5 separate regions of the Homo sapiens genome follow, and regions 2, 3, 4 and 5 are each linked to region 1. Evidence: promoter capture Hi-C in 16 types of primary human blood cells and fetal thymus (Javierre and others, 2016). All regions are on one chromosome and are shown on one strand. Each heading gives the region's core, a stretch centred on a gene start or on the middle of the fragment in contact. The rest is flanking DNA. Distances are from core to core; before and after follow the strand shown. Region 1 holds the start of AXDND1 (axonemal dynein light chain domain containing 1). Region 2 holds the start of C1orf220 (chromosome 1 putative open reading frame 220). Region 3 holds the start of RALGPS2 (Ral GEF with PH domain and SH3 binding motif 2). Region 4 overlaps RALGPS2 (Ral GEF with PH domain and SH3 binding motif 2). Region 5 overlaps RALGPS2 (Ral GEF with PH domain and SH3 binding motif 2).

Region 1 (2,891 bases), core at 120-2,619:
TTCTCCATGTTGGCCAGAATGGTCTCAATCTCTTGACCTCGTGATCCGCCAGCCTCAGCCTCCCAAATGGGATTACAGGTGTGAGCCACTGTGCCCGGCCTATTTATTTATTTATTTTGAGATGGGGTCTTGCTCTTGTCTCCCAGACTGGAATGCAATGGCTCGATCCTGGCTCACTGCAACCTCACCTCCTGGGTTCAAGCGATTCTCTTGCCTCAGCCTCCAGAGTAAGCTGGGACTACAGGCGCGAGCCACCATGCCCGGCTAATTTTTGTATTTCTAGTAGAGACGGGATTTCATCATATTTGGCCAGGCTGGTCTCGAACTCCTGACCTCAAGTGATCCGCCCACCTCGGCCTCCCAAAGTGCTGGGATTACAGGCGTGAGCCACCGCGCCCTGCCTCACTATTACTTTTTCCAAAGTTCCTTAAAGCCAAAGACCAGGAACCAAAAAATACGTAACTATTGATATTTAAAATAGGTTGAATTTAAAATCATATATAAATCAACATTTGAAAAAAAGTATAAACTGTATTTAGATGGAGTAGTGAAACAGTACTCTGACTCAAAATACTGTAAAAGGAATGACTTCTTGCTTTATTTAAGCAAGTGTGTTAGAAAAATGTAGCCAATCAAGGTATTCTGAATATCAGATTTAAAAAACCGGTGAATGGAAGGTGATTTCTGTCTTACGGCCATGACTGTTTATGACTTCAGAATCAACGAAGTTTACCTCTTGTCCCTTCCTTGGCTACAGACACTTTTAACTTTTTGCTCTCAGATGTTGATGTAGAGTTTAGCGGGGTGGAGGGCGTTTTCGGGAGAGACATAATAAACAATGCCTCCTATCTCTTTAGTAATTTGAAATAGTCCTCCGGAAAGCTAATTTAGACACAAATCAGCGCCGCACTGGGACTTGCAGGCTGCCACATAGTCCTGCAGGCAGAGGAAAAAAGATTTAAAAAAAAAAAAAAAGATGACAACTATTGAGTACTTAGGTTCAGATCGCAGTTTAGAATTCATCTAGCATGGTTCTCCTTCTTCGGGGCGACCTCTATGTTCTGGGGTTATGTGTAGCGACTAAGAAGCCTTAGTGGACCGTCAGGTCGGGGTCAAGGAGCAGGGCAGGAAGGACCCGCTCGGCGGACCCCGCAGACCGCCGGCACCCCTGGTGGGGGACACTCGCTGCAGGCGGCTCGGCTGGGGACCATACCTTCCCCACAGGCAGCGCTCTCGCGCGCCAGTTCCACAAACTCGCGAGTTGGGCAGGCCTCGCACTGCTTCTTGGTTTAAAATGACGGGAAAGGGACACCCGCGATCCTACCCACACATTGCGTACCCGCCCAGCATCCGCTCACTTCCTCCTTTGCTGGAACGCCTGTTTGTCGTCATAGAAACCCAGGGCCCCGAGGTTTAGCGCCCTCCATAGGGGCTGCCTTCAGCGGTGCCGGCGGAGGAGGGAGACAGCTAAGACAATCCCTACACCCTCTTGGAGTTTCTTATGTTCTAAGTCACAGCATAGGTTCAGTAGCAAAGGAGAAGAAAAACGTTTAATCCCGCCGTTGTCACGGAATCCGAAAGTGTCTCACGCCGGGGCTTCCTGCCGCGGGCCAGGCCAGTGCGCAGGCGCCGGTGGGGGTTAGCTCGAGGGGCCGACCCCTGTAGCCCGTGACGCACGCGGGTTAAGCAAGGGTCTTCTGAGTTGTTTCCATCTTTCTAGCTCTCTTTTTTGTTGCTTTGCATATTTTTCTTTCTCTTTCTTCCTCTTTTTCTTTCTTTCTCTTTTTTTCCCCTGAGACGGAATTTCCCTCTTGTCGCCCAGGCTGGAGTTTAATGGTGCGATCTCGGCTCACTGCAACCTCCACCTCCTGGGTTCAAGCAATTCTCCTGCCTCAGCCTCCCAAGCAGCTGGGACTACAGGCAGACGCCACCATGCCCGGCTAATTTTGTAGTTTGTTTTTTGTTTTGTTTTGTTTGAGACGGAGTCTCGTTCTGTCGCGCTGGCTGGAGTGCAATGGTGCGATCTCAGCTCACTGCCACCTCCGCCTCCCAGGTTCAAGCGATTCTCCTGCCTCAGCCTCCCGAGGGACTACAGGCGGGGGCCACCATGCCCGGCTAATTTTTGTATTTTTAGTAGAGACGGGGTTTCACCATATTGGCCAGGCTGGTCTCAAACTCCTGACCGCGCCCGCCTCGGCCTTCCAAAGTGCTGGGATCATAGGCGTGAGCCACTGCGCCCGGACGCTTTGCATATTTTTCTAAAAGCCAGACTCAGGGGGATGTTGGGTAATAAGAAACGCTGGGTCCCTTATTGGGTAAGCCGTCCAGTGCTTTACATTTCGGTCACGTCTTCCTTGGACCCTTAAATGCCTCCCCCCAGAGCACAAGGAAGGCCTCCTGGGCCCAGATTTTTCACCCCCTTGGGGCAGGGAAGGAGGATTGAGCTTAGGTGGAACCAGCTCAGGTATAATTGTCGGGGCTTCTGGCGTGAAAATCTGCCCTCAGGAAAGAATACCATCAGCGGCCGGTGGCTCACGCCTGTAATCCCAGCACTTTCTTAGGCCGAGGCGGGTGGATCACGAGGTCAGGAGTTCGAGACCAGCCTGACCAACATGGTGAAACCCCGTCTCTACTAAAAACACAAAAATTAGCCAAGAGAGGTGGCGCGCGCCTGTAATCCCAGCTACTCAGGAGGTTGAAGCAGGAGATTCGCTTGAACCGGGGAGGAAAGGGTTGCGGTGAGCCGAGATGGCGCCACCGCACTCCAGCCTGGGCAACAGAACGAGACTCCGTCTCAAAAAAAAAAAGAGTATCATCAGAGCCTTCGCACTGAACTGAGGCTCGGTTCGGTGAGGGATCATTTCTTTTCTTTTCTTTTTTGAGACGGAGTT
Region 2 (2,891 bases), core at 161-2,660, 820 kb after region 1:
GATCAGGAGCTTGAGACCAGCCTGCCCAACGTGAGAAACCCTGTCTCTACTAAGAATAAAAAATTTAGCCAGGCATGGTGGTGGCACGCCTGTTAATCCCCGCTACTTGGGAGATTGAGGCAGGAGAATCGCTTGAACCTGGGAAGCAGAGGTTGCAGTGAGTCGAGATGGCGCCACTGCACTCCAGCCTGGGCCACAGAGCGAGACTCCGTCTCAAACAAACAAACGACAACAACAAAATGCAAACTCTGGCCAGGCGCGGTGGCTCATGCCTGTAATCCCAGCACGTTGGGAGGCCAAGGTGGGCGTATCACTTGAGGTCAGGAGTTCAAGACCAGCCTGGCGAACATGGTGAAACCCCATCTCTACTAAAAATACAAAAATTAGCCAGGTGTGGTGTCATGCACCTGTAGTCCCAGCTACTCAGAAGGCTGAGGCAGGATAATCGCTTGAACCTGGAAGACAGGTTGCGGTGAGCACAGATCGCGCCACTGCACCCCAACCTGAGCGACAGAACAAGACTTCATAAAAAAAAAAAAAACCCCACGCAGATTGCAGATTCCTGGGCCCCATCTTCGCCTTTCTGAATTGCAGCCTTTCACCCTTTAAGAATGAGAGGGTGAAATCTGCACGTCATACAAATAGCCCAGGGGCTATTAATCTGATGTTGCTCCCCAGCTCCCTCCAACACCGTCAGAGGGTGCACGGATTAGGCCTCTGCTGCGTGCAGAGAAGCATCCTAGGTGCTGCGTGGCTGTGCCAAAGCAGCAGAAACCGGTGGTGTGCCTTAAGATGCATGCTCCAAAGCTGTCCACAAGGCCTCTGGTACAGGCTTCCAGGTCTACGTCTCGGCTTCCCCGACAGTGTCCATGCGACACTGTCACCAGTTTCTCCTCTCACAAGCAGAAAATCAAATTCGGATTGGGCAAATGATTCCCTGCCCGGGTGTGGAATAAGGGTCAAGTCCTAAGTATGGAGAGAGAGCGCCGGCTCCCGCCAGGATATGCGAAGCTCTGGAGGGGAGGCCAAGCCACCAGGCACCCGGCGGGAGAAGAGGAGGCTGGAGAGCGCCGCCCAGTGCCTGCAGGCCGGGCGCTCCACGCCTCCCCTCCCTCCTGCACACCCCATTCCCCTCCGGTTGCCCCGCCTGGGAAGCCCCCTCCCCACACCTCCCGGCCCAGCATCTGCACGAGAGCCGCGAGCCCTGGCCCAGAGCTCTGGGTGGGCCTCTCACCCCAGACGGCGGCCGCAGCCCGTCCCTGATCACCGGCCGCCTGAGCCCTCCGTTCGCTCGGCGCGAGCGCCGCCACCCGTCCTTACCCCCATCCAGTCCGAGGCCAGCCCCGTAGGCTCCGAGCCTGCTCCGTGAAAAGCCTTTTCCCCAGGAGGAGAGTTACTGTAAAGCAAGAGGAAGCCGAGAAGAGGCGGTGGCTGCAGCGCGCGGGGCCCGGCGGGGGCGCGGGGGCGTCGGGGTACTGACTGGGCAGCGCGGTTTCCCCTCATCCCGGGACACGGTGCGGCGCTAGCGCCACCCAGCGGGCGCGGTGGGAATTGCGCTCCCTTCCTGCGCTGGGGCTCTGGACACACAGGCGACCAAGAATGACGCCTGCAGCCGGATAAACGCTCGGGGCAAGGCCGCTATCATCCCTCTGCCGGGAGTGAGTCAAGTCTCAGCAAAAGAAGAAGCCACTTTGGCCAAAATTCCAAGAGTGCTGATGAAGACGGTGACATCTGACATTTCAATGGCACTTTCCATTTCCCCCGGGGTGCGCATTCCGGGCCAGTGGAGCGCTGCGTCGCCTGTGCAGGACCTGGAGGTCTGCAGGACTGTGACCAGTCGGAGTCTCGGAGTCGTGGGTTAAACATTAGTCGGGAGCACTCGTTCATTCCCTGAGCTCCCCTTGCCCTTCACCCTTCGGTCCCGGAAGCCGGAAGGGAGACTGCCCCGCCCCTTGCCTGCCGCCCAGTGGCTCTCCCGGGGCCCTCTTGGCCCCTCTCTCCCAGCCCTCCATACAGTGAAGGGTTGTTTCCGCTGGTGACTTCCACCTGTGGGAGCAGAGAAAGGAAGCGGGGCAGAGGAGAAGGGGAAGGTGTCAGGCGATTCCCCTCCTTGCGCTGCAAGCCGGGTGGGAATAGAACACCTGCAGCCCTCCCCGGCGCCCTGCGAATGAGGTGGGAGTGGGAACGCCATCAGGGCAGAGCCCCTCCAGCTGGCTGGGGTCTGCACCTCCTCGCCAGCCCGGCCACCTCAAAACGGTGCTTGCCTCCCTGCGGGGGTGTAGAAGCCTCTTGGAGCAGCACTTGTAGAAAATCAAGTCCCTGGAAAGAAGCAAAATTAATCCGTTTGTTTCTCTATTTATTTTTGCTTCCCCACACCAGGTATTCACTTCATCCAAGGCTGCCCAATGTCACCTTCCACCCAGAGGAATCTCCCCTCTCCACCCCAGGCCAACAGCCTCTGCCTTCAGCTGTGGCCTCCACTCTGGCATTACTCTGGGCAGAGGGCTCAGGAGGGCTCAAGGAGGACCAGTGACATTCAGAGTGGCCAGAGTAAAGGGAGGGAGGGGGAGTGGTGGGAGAGGCGTGCAGAAGGCACAGGTGAGGTGGCGGAGGGGGGCAGGTGGTGGGGGGAGCGGGCTGGGGTGGGATGGGCCTGTCAGCATAGCAAGGGCTGTGATGGGCTTGAGTCTGACAGGGGGCAATGACCTGACCTACGGTTTTGTAAGATCACTCTGGCTGCCACCTGGAGAGCTGGTGTGGGGATGATGGCCATGGTAGACACAAGGGGAGCAGTTAGGAGACCACCACAAGTGACCATGCGGCCCAGGCGAGTAGGGTAGCAACAGAGATGGGGAGAGGAGGTCAGATTTGTGATCTGTATCTGAAGGTGG
Region 3 (2,891 bases), core at 213-2,712, 640 kb after region 1:
ACACTGGTAAGAAAAGGCTCTCTATAGCAACTAAAGTGTTGGGGAAAAAAAATCCAGGGAGCATAAACGATAAAGCTCAATTAACTGCTGCTTGTGTGATTCCACTTTATGGTCTTAAATACACAGTAGGCATTAGATATTTCTTTTGGGGTTTTTTTTTTTTAACAGAAATTTAGTATTTCAATTGCCCCTCCTCCACAGCTAACATCAGTGCCCTTTCTTCCTCCTCCCTTACCCCTCCCAACTCAAACAAATTAACATTTGTACTAGGTACCTCCTATCAGCTCGCAGCTTCTTCCCAAACACGCCCACGTACACTGAAACTGGCTTGCGTCTACACAACACACAGCTACAGGAAAAGAGCTTCGAGGGGGGAGCTGGGGCGGGGGGTTAATAATTCGCTCCGCACAGGTTTACGGCTATTTTCCAGAAACTAGTTCCTCGCTCGTGGCTCGCGTTTCTTCCAAATCACCTCAAAAGCACGGTGTTTATGAGCCTACCTAATCCGATACTGCAATGGAATTCCGGATATTTGCAGACAGATCTCCCGGCTTTGCAAGTGTTTGATGAGATACGTTCGGAATCTCCTTTTTTTTCTAGAGCCCGGTTCCAGGCCGTAGAGCAAGCCGACCTGGGGCTGCGGCCCCTGCCCCACACCCGGCCCGCGCGCCCGGCCCGAGGCCAGCACAGGACGCAGCCCCTCCGGGGCCGGGGCTGGCGGGGGCCGCTCGGGCTGCGGGCCGCTCTGCAACAGGTCACCCTGACCGCGACTCCGCGGGTTCGCGGGCGGCCAACTCTGCGGCCAGGCTTCTGGGCGCAGCCGCCAGGGCCAGGGGAGGGGGTGTGGCCCGGCTTCTGCTGGTCCTGGCTCCGAGGTCCGGGATCGGGCTCACCTGAAGGAAGACTGAGGCGCCGCTGGGCGCCAGAACAGAGCGGGCGGAGGCTGGGGGCTTCCGCCACCCAAGAGGGAGAGCGAGGCGGGTTCAAGGGGTCGCAGCGCCCCCGGCTTCAGGACGGCGCCCCCGAGCGGGGACCCCACGGCCGCTCCGACTCTGAGAACCCGCGGCCGAGGGAGGCGCGCCGCCCAGCGCCCTTCTCCCTCAGCCTCAGCCCCAGCTCCGCAGCCCCCTCCCTGCGCGCAGGGCGAGCAGCCCCGGGGCCCGCGGCCGGGAGAGCCACACTCCGCAGCGCCGCCGCCGCCATTCCCCGCGCCGCCCGGGGGGCGCCGCGTACCCACCCTCCCTCCCTCCCTCCCCCGCACCGCCCCGCGGCCTGAGCCCACCGACCTGTGCAGCCGCGGCCGTCGCCTCAGAGGACGGAAAGACGATGCCGGCCTCACGCTTCACCGCCACGGCCGCCGCCGCCTAGAGTAGCACTCGTCGACCCGAACAGTCACCGTCTCTCATTCAGCGCCCGCAGCAGCCGCCGCCGCCGCCGCCGCTGCCGCTCGGGGGAGGAGAGTGAGCTGGAACCACCCCGTCCGCGCCAGGGGTGGGGGACGAGAGCGGACCTGGCGGGGGCGCGCGCCAAGCGGGCGGGGCGGAGCCGCGCGCGCGCGCGCACCAACGGAGCGCGCTCGCGGGGGCTCTGAGAGCTGCAGCCGTCAGGGTCTTAACCTCGCGCTTCCCGCCCGCAGCTTTTCGGCCCCGCGGAGCCCAACTGCCGCCGGTGATCGGTGCCCGCAGCGCGCGCAGCCATCCGCAACCCCACCGCCCGGCGCCTGCTGAAAGGAGGGGCTCCCACCGGCCAAACAACGGGGGGGGGAAGGGGTAGGAGGATGGACAGGTGGGGCGTCCGCCACCGCCTGGCCACCCGCTCCCGGAACGCGGCCCTCTGTGAAATCCGCCGTGATGTCTGTGGCCTTCAGCGCCGGGCTCTTCACCTTTAAGGCCAGAGAACAAAGTCTGGAAGCACTTGGCCCCAAGATCAAATATCCAGCCCACGCCAGCGGTGTTTTTAGAAGTCACTGAGGACAAATGAGGGGGCTCCCAATGTGGAGAGTCACCCCACTGTCTTAGATAAGGTCATAAATTATGGTGATCAACATCCTCACACATTAAGATTCGGGAAGTGTTAGAAGTAGGCCTTTGTAAGATGTTACGCAGGGTACTACCCTTGACTTAAGGAGCAAATGACAGAAATTGGGCGGAAAGGTGTTGTTTCAGAGTCTACTAAATGGGTGGCCTACTTAAAGCTAGCACCATTTGATGCAGTGTGACTGTTAACGGAAGGTTTTAAGTGAGCCGCCTTTGTATCTGCTGTCATTAGACCATTTGGAAATGGATAATTATTTGATGATCTGCAGTTCTTTCTCTAGGCAATGTGCAGTAGAATGTGGAAAGAATACTATGTACCAGCATTAAGTGTAAAACATGAAAGGACCAATAATTCACTATTCCCATTTGGTTTCTTTCTTCCCTTTAATAACCGCTAAACAGAACTGATTAATCTTGAACGTTGAAGATTGCTAATTATTTCCTCCTTTGATTGCCTTCTGTCATAGCCCTTTTACTCTAGTTGGGGACGCTAGAATGCCCTTCAACCTCCTTCTCTCAAATAGGGTTACTTTAAAGCACCCCAACGCAAAGTTAAGTCAAAAAGAAAAACAGCGAGGATAGGCAACAAAGTTCGTAGTGTTTCATTTTTATTCCATTTTACTTTCAAAGAAAGTCTTGAATCATGACGAAATCACTAGAAGAAGTAGAGCAATCAAAAGAAGAAAAAAAGCGTTCCCCCCCACCCAATATTTCAAATGACAAGAGTCCAAAAAAGAAAAGAAAAAGGAAGATGATTGGTAAAAAGGAGGGAAGTGCATTATGTATACAGAAAGTTTTCGCATAGATGTTAGTTGCTTCAAGTCCCAAATAAACAACAACTAAATGAATTAGCAC
Region 4 (2,891 bases), core at 286-2,785, 610 kb after region 1:
CTGAAAAAGCAATTTTAAAAAGTAATCCCATTTACAAGAACCACAAAAAAAATTAAATACATAGGAAGTAACTTAACCAAAAAAGTAAAAGATGTCTACAATGAAATTATAAAACACTGATGAAAGAAATTGAGGAGGATGCAAAAAAAAATGGATATTGCATATTAACGGACTCAAAGAATCAATATTTTTAACTTGTCTGCACTAACTAATCTACAGATTCAAGGCAATGCAATCCCTATCAACATACCAATAATATTCTTCATGGAAATAGAAAAAACAATCCTAAAATTTATATGGAACCACAGAAGACACAGAATAGCTAAAGCAATCTTGGGCAAAAAAAAAAAAAAAAAGAACAAAACTGAGGAATCCTATTACTTGACTTCAAATTATACTATAGAGTTACAGTAACCAAAACAGCATGTACTGGCATAAAAACATAGAAATAGACCAATTGAACAGAACAGAGAATCCAGAAACAAATCCACACACCTACAGTAAACTCATTTTCAACAAAGGTGCCAAGAACATTCATTGGCAATGGGAAAAGGACAGTCTCTTCAATAAACAGGGCTGGGAAAACTAGATATCCATGTATAGAAGAATGGAACTAGACCCCTAACTCTCACCTTATACAAAAATCAAACCAAAATGGATTACAGACTTAAATCGAAGACCTGAAACAATGAAACTACTACAAGAAAACACTTGGAAAACCCTCCAGAGCATTGGTCTGGGAGAAAATCTATTGAATAACACCCCACAAGCACAGGCAACCAAAGCAAAAATGGACAAATAGGATCACATCAAGTTAAAAAGCTTTTGCGCAACAAAGGAAACAATCAACAAAGAGACGACTTACAGAATGGAAGAAAATATTTGCAGCCTACCCATCTGAGAAGGGATTAATAACCAGAACATATAAGGAGCTCAAACAACTCTACAGGAAAAAAAAAATCTAATACTCTGATTTTTTAAATGGGCAAAAGATCTGACTAGACATTTCTCCAAAGAAAACATATAACTGGTAAAGAGGCATATGAAAAAGTTCTCAACATCACTGTAAGTGTCCATCAACAGATGAACGTATGGATAAAGAAAATATTATACATATACATCATGGAGTACTATTCAGCCATAAAAAGACTGAGATCCTGTCATTTACAACAACATGGATGGAACTGGAGGTCATGTTAAGTGAAATAAGCCAGACACAGAAAGATAAACATTGTATGTTCTCACTTATTTGTGAGAGCTAAAAATCAAAACAATTGAACTCATGGAGACAGAGAGAAGGATGGTTACCAGAGGCTGAGAAGGGCAGTGGAGGGGATGAGGGCAGGGGGGGTAGGAAGTGACAGATAATGGGTATAAAAAGCAGTTAGAAAGAATAAGACCTAGTATTTGATAGCACTACAGGGTGACTATAGTCAATAATAATTTAATTGTACATTTTAAAATAACTAAAAGAGTATAATTGGATTGCTTGTAACAAAGGATAAATGCTTGAGGGGATGAATAACCCATTTACCACGAGATGATTATTACGCACTGTATGCCTCTATCAAAGTATCTCGTACCACCTAAATACATACACCTACTATATACCCCCAAGAATTAAAAATTAAAAGAATCAATGAAACCAAAAGTTGGTTCTTTGAAAGGTTATATGAGATTAACAGACCACCAGATAGATAAACTAAGAAGAAAGGAGATCCAAATAAGCAATCAGAATTGACAAAAGTGACATTACAACCAATTCCACAGAAATACAAAACATCCTCAAAGACTATTATGAACACCTGTACACACACAAACTAAAAAATCTAGAGAAAATGGATAAATTCCTGAAAAATCACAACCCCCCAAGATTGAATTAGAAAGAAACTGAAACCCTAAACACACCAATATCAAATTCCAAAACTGAATAAGTAATAAAATACCTACCAACCAAAAAAGGCCCTAGACCAGATGGATTCACAAATTCTACCAGACATACAAAGAAAAACTGGTAACAGTCTTCCTGAACCTACTCCAAAAAATCAAGGAGGGGGGACTCCTCCCTAACTCATTCTATGAAGCCAGCATCACCTTGATACCAAAACCTGGCAAAAACACAACAAAACAAGTAAACTGCAGGCCAATATCCCTGATGAACATAAACGTAAAAATCTTCAACACACGACTAGCAAGCCGAATCCAGCAGCACACCAAAAAGTTAATTCACCATGATTAAGCAAGCTTCACTCTTGTGATGCAAGGTTGGTTCAACATACACAAATCAATAAATGTGATTCACCACATAAACAGAATTAAAAATAAAAACCCTATGATCATCTCAATAGATACAGAATAAGCTTTTGATAAAATCCAACATCCCTTATGATAAAAACCCTCAAAAAAACTAGGCATCAAAGGAACATACCTCAAAATAATAAGAGCCATCTATGACAAACCCACAGCCAATCATACTGAACAGGCAAAAGCTAAGAGTATTCCCCTTGAGAGCTGGAACAAGACAAGGATGCCCACTCTCACTTAACATAGTACTGGAAGTCCTTGTCAGAACAATTGCACAAGAGAAAGAAATAAAAGGCATCCAAATAGGAAAAAAATAAGTCCAACTAGCTCTCTTCACTGACTATGTGATTCTATACCTAGAAAACCCTAAAGACCGCAAACGGGCTCCTACAACCAATAAATGACTCAGTAAAGTTTCAAGATACAAAGTCAATGTACAAAAATCAGTAGCATTTCCATACAACAATAACGTTCAAGCTGAGAGCCAAATCAAGAACACAATTCCATTTACAATAGAATCAACAACAACAAAATACCTAGGAATACATAGAAACAAACAAACAAATACCAAGGAGGTGAAAGATCTC
Region 5 (2,891 bases), core at 200-2,699, 590 kb after region 1:
ACCTGTAAATCAACAATACTGAATAAGCTTATCACAGCTAGTGATCTAGATTACCAACATATCACAAATACTTAAAATATTATGAACTACATGTCATAAAAATACAATCATCTCTCAGTATCCATGGGGGATTTGTTCCAGGATCTACTATAGATACCAAAATCCACCGATGCTTAAGGCCCTTATATAATGGTGCAGTATTTGCATATCACCTATACACATCCTCTTGTATACTTTAAATCATCTCCGGATTACTCATAATACTTAATACAGTGCCAATGCTACGTAAATTGTTGTTATATTGTATTTTTTAGGGAATTATAGCAAGGAAAAGTCTGTACATGTTCAGTACAGATGCAACCATCCTTTTTTTTTTTTTTTTGCCCCAAGTATTTTCAACTCAGATTTGTTTGAATCCAGATGTAGAACCCATGGATATGGTGGCTTTACTGTACCATAATATACACTATGTTTATTTGTATAGGACTTTAAAGTTTATTAAATATCTTTAATACATTATGTTGATTTGCACAACTACCAATAACACTAATTAGGGAAGATATACCCACATAACAAACAAACACAGAGCTTCTGAGGACACAGGATGGTAAATAAGGAGCCAAGAACAAGTTTCAAGCCATCAAAATTCTAGTCAAATATTCTTTTCACAACACAGATTTTCCACTTTACTGGAAGTCAGAGTACTTACTTGAAGTTCTAATACCTTTCCATAAATAACCTGTCATATAAACTGAGTAGGTAACTTTACCTCTAGGACAGAATTTCTTCCTCTTTGTAAAATGACAGTGGTAAATGAACTTTAAGATCCCTTTTCAACTTTAAAGATCTATGACGTTTTTCATAAGAGAAATGGTAAGTGTCTATAAATTAGGTACTCTATGCTACATTCACTTTAAAAGCTGAGTTTTAAATGTTAATAATAATTACTTCAATGCTAAGTTTCCTTTCTCTGGAGAAGCAATATAGGATATAGTGATTTAAAAGCACAAATTTTGGAACCACATTACCTCTGTGTAAACCCAGGAAATTTTAACTTTTCTGTACTCAGTTTTCTCATCTATAAAATAGGGATAATAAGTACCTACTTCATAGAGTTGTGGTGAAGCGAAATGAGATAATATACACAAAGCACCTAAAACAGTGTTGGCACATGGTAAATATGCTATTACTATGATGTAATGATGATGCAGATGTTACTATCTGCTTAATTCCCATAAAGCTTAAATTCAACAGAGTCTCTTAAATAAAAAAGAAAAGACAAAACCTTAGAAATACACCTTTGGGAAGCAATTGTTGCTGGGCATTACTAAAAATCCTAATTGCAAACACAATGAATGAGAATGGCTAAGATCTGTTTCCTAGAAGTAGTAAAACATGCTCTTGGTTTTGAAATGCTTAAAAATTATTACTAATGATAGCAGCCTTCAGTCACATCTTGAATTTATCTTAATTTATTCAGATACAGCCTAGGTACCTGCTAAGAGCAGAACATCGTGCTAGGATTTTTAAAACAGAAATATATTCAAAATCATGAAGTTTTAAAACCATTTAACGCACCTACTTAGAAAATCAACGTGAAAATGAATAAACTACAAAACAATTTCCTCCCATCTAAACTATCTTATTCTATAAGCTTCATTATCCTTATAGTATTAAGAATCAACTTATATTTATACTGCTATGCAACAAAACCAGCTGATAATCCAGATTCTCTTTGAACATAGCACTCAGTTTGCAAAATATTTTTCAAATAATTACATTTCATTCCACTTTCTAGGCAACATTAAGTATAACATGAATTTATAAATCAGGGGTGCCCCCTAGTGCTAAGAAAAAGATTTTAATTTAATAGGTAAAGGAGTTATATCTTTAACTTACTTTACATATCAAAATATACAATTTATTACTTTTACTTAAAAAAATGTAATACAGACCAGGAACAATATTAAAATATTTGTAAACTATAAGCATGAAGAATCACATTTTCTCTCCTTTTATTTTTTTTTTTGAGACAGAGTTTTGCTTGTTGCCCAGGCTGGCATGCAATGGCATGATCTCAGCTCACTGCAACCTCCGCCTCCCAGGTTCAAGCAATTCTCCAGCCTCAGCCTCCTGAGTAGCTGGGATTATAGGCACAAGCCACCACACCCAGCTAATTTTGGGTATTTTTAGTAGAGACAGGGTTTCACCATGTTGGTCAGGCTGTAGAGACAGGGTTTCACCATGTTGGCCAGGCTGGTCTCGAACTCTTAACCTCAGGTGATCTGCAGGCCTTGGCCTCCCAAAGTGCTGGGATTACAGGCGTCAGCCACTGCACCTGGCCTTCTCTGCTTTTAAAATAAATTGTCACCCATGTATTTCATGAAAATTAAGGTCACATTAAAATCCATTACATATTTTAAAATATAGCAAAGCATACCTTAAAGAATATAAACTTTTCGTAACTATTTACAAATGTACATGTCAATAGTATTTTTTTTTTTTTTGAGACGGAGTCTTGCTCTGTCGCCCAGGCTGGAGTGCAGTGGCGGGATCTTGGCTCACTGCAAGCTCCATCTCCCGGGTTCACACCATTCTCCTGCCTCAGCCTCCTGAGTAGCTGGGACTACAGGCGCCCGCCACCACGCCCGGCTAATTTTTTGTATTTTTAGTAGAGATGGGGTTTCACCGTGTTAGCCAGGAGTCAATAGTATTTAATAATGTTGAAGTATAACAGAGAGGCTTATACGATATTATAAAAGTACTACAAGTTCTAAAAGACAGAGATACGAGTTTATTCTTTTAGTACGTCCTTCAAAGACCTTTCTATACTTTGCACACAGAAAAGTTCACATTAAATATGCCAAATATATGCTTTAATATTTTATTTA

What was found. Contacts are between HindIII fragments. The CHiCAGO score rates a contact against its expected background, and 5 or more counts as called.
Region 2: a contact is called between the fragment with the promoter of C1orf220 here and the fragment with the promoter of AXDND1 in region 1, in 7 of 17 cell types (naive CD8 T cells, erythroblasts, total CD4 T cells and 4 more). The highest score is 9.2, in naive CD8 T cells.
Region 3: the fragment with the promoter of RALGPS2 here is called in contact with the fragment with the promoter of AXDND1 in region 1 in 13 of 17 cell types (fetal thymus, naive CD4 T cells, naive CD8 T cells and 10 more); the score reaches 18.9 in fetal thymus.
Region 4: a contact is called between a fragment that was not itself captured here and the fragment with the promoter of AXDND1 in region 1, in 1 of 17 cell types (naive CD4 T cells). The highest score is 5.2, in naive CD4 T cells.
Region 5: a fragment that was not itself captured here is called in contact with the fragment with the promoter of AXDND1 in region 1 in 12 of 17 cell types (naive CD4 T cells, total CD8 T cells, naive CD8 T cells and 9 more); the score reaches 15.9 in naive CD4 T cells.

The regions. Positions count from the first base shown.
Region 1 is chr1:179,364,449-179,367,339 of GRCh38, reverse strand. It overlaps AXDND1 (axonemal dynein light chain domain containing 1), which reads right to left and starts at 1,369. Exons shown (of 26, transcript NM_144696.6): 1 at 1,340-1,369; 2 at 734-936. The coding sequence starts at 830. RefSeq lists enhancers at 969-1,038, 1,419-1,818. The HindIII fragment of the contact is 9,843 bases long and covers 1-2,891 here.
Region 2 is chr1:178,541,315-178,544,205 of GRCh38, reverse strand. It overlaps C1orf220 (chromosome 1 putative open reading frame 220), which reads right to left and starts at 1,410. Exons shown (of 3, transcript NR_033186.1): 1 at 1,321-1,410. LOC124904460 (a long non-coding RNA gene) reads left to right here and starts at 1,561. Exons shown (of 2, transcript XR_007066748.1): 1 at 1,561-2,172; 2 at 2,380-2,891. RefSeq lists silencers at 1,176-1,245, 1,276-1,605 and an enhancer at 1,656-1,715. The HindIII fragment of the contact is 17,585 bases long and covers 1-2,891 here.
Region 3 is chr1:178,723,815-178,726,705 of GRCh38, reverse strand. RALGPS2 (Ral GEF with PH domain and SH3 binding motif 2) reads right to left here and starts at 1,462. Exons shown (of 20, transcript NM_152663.5): 1 at 1,287-1,462. RALGPS2-AS1 (RALGPS2 antisense RNA 1) reads left to right here and starts at 422. Exons shown (of 1, transcript NR_187252.1): 1 at 422-2,891. RefSeq lists silencers at 653-882, 1,083-1,202, 1,463-1,632, 1,534-1,688 and an enhancer at 523-1,112. The HindIII fragment of the contact is 4,509 bases long and covers 1-2,891 here.
Region 4 is chr1:178,756,993-178,759,883 of GRCh38, reverse strand. The region is part of intron 1 of RALGPS2 (Ral GEF with PH domain and SH3 binding motif 2); the gene reads right to left. Among named protein-coding and RNA genes, the nearest start is that of RALGPS2-AS1, 32 kb to the right of the region's middle. The HindIII fragment of the contact is 1,422 bases long and covers 825-2,246 here.
Region 5 is chr1:178,773,412-178,776,302 of GRCh38, reverse strand. All of the region lies in intron 1 of RALGPS2 (Ral GEF with PH domain and SH3 binding motif 2), which reads right to left. Among named protein-coding and RNA genes, the nearest start is that of RALGPS2-AS1, 49 kb to the right of the region's middle. The HindIII fragment of the contact is 414 bases long and covers 1,243-1,656 here.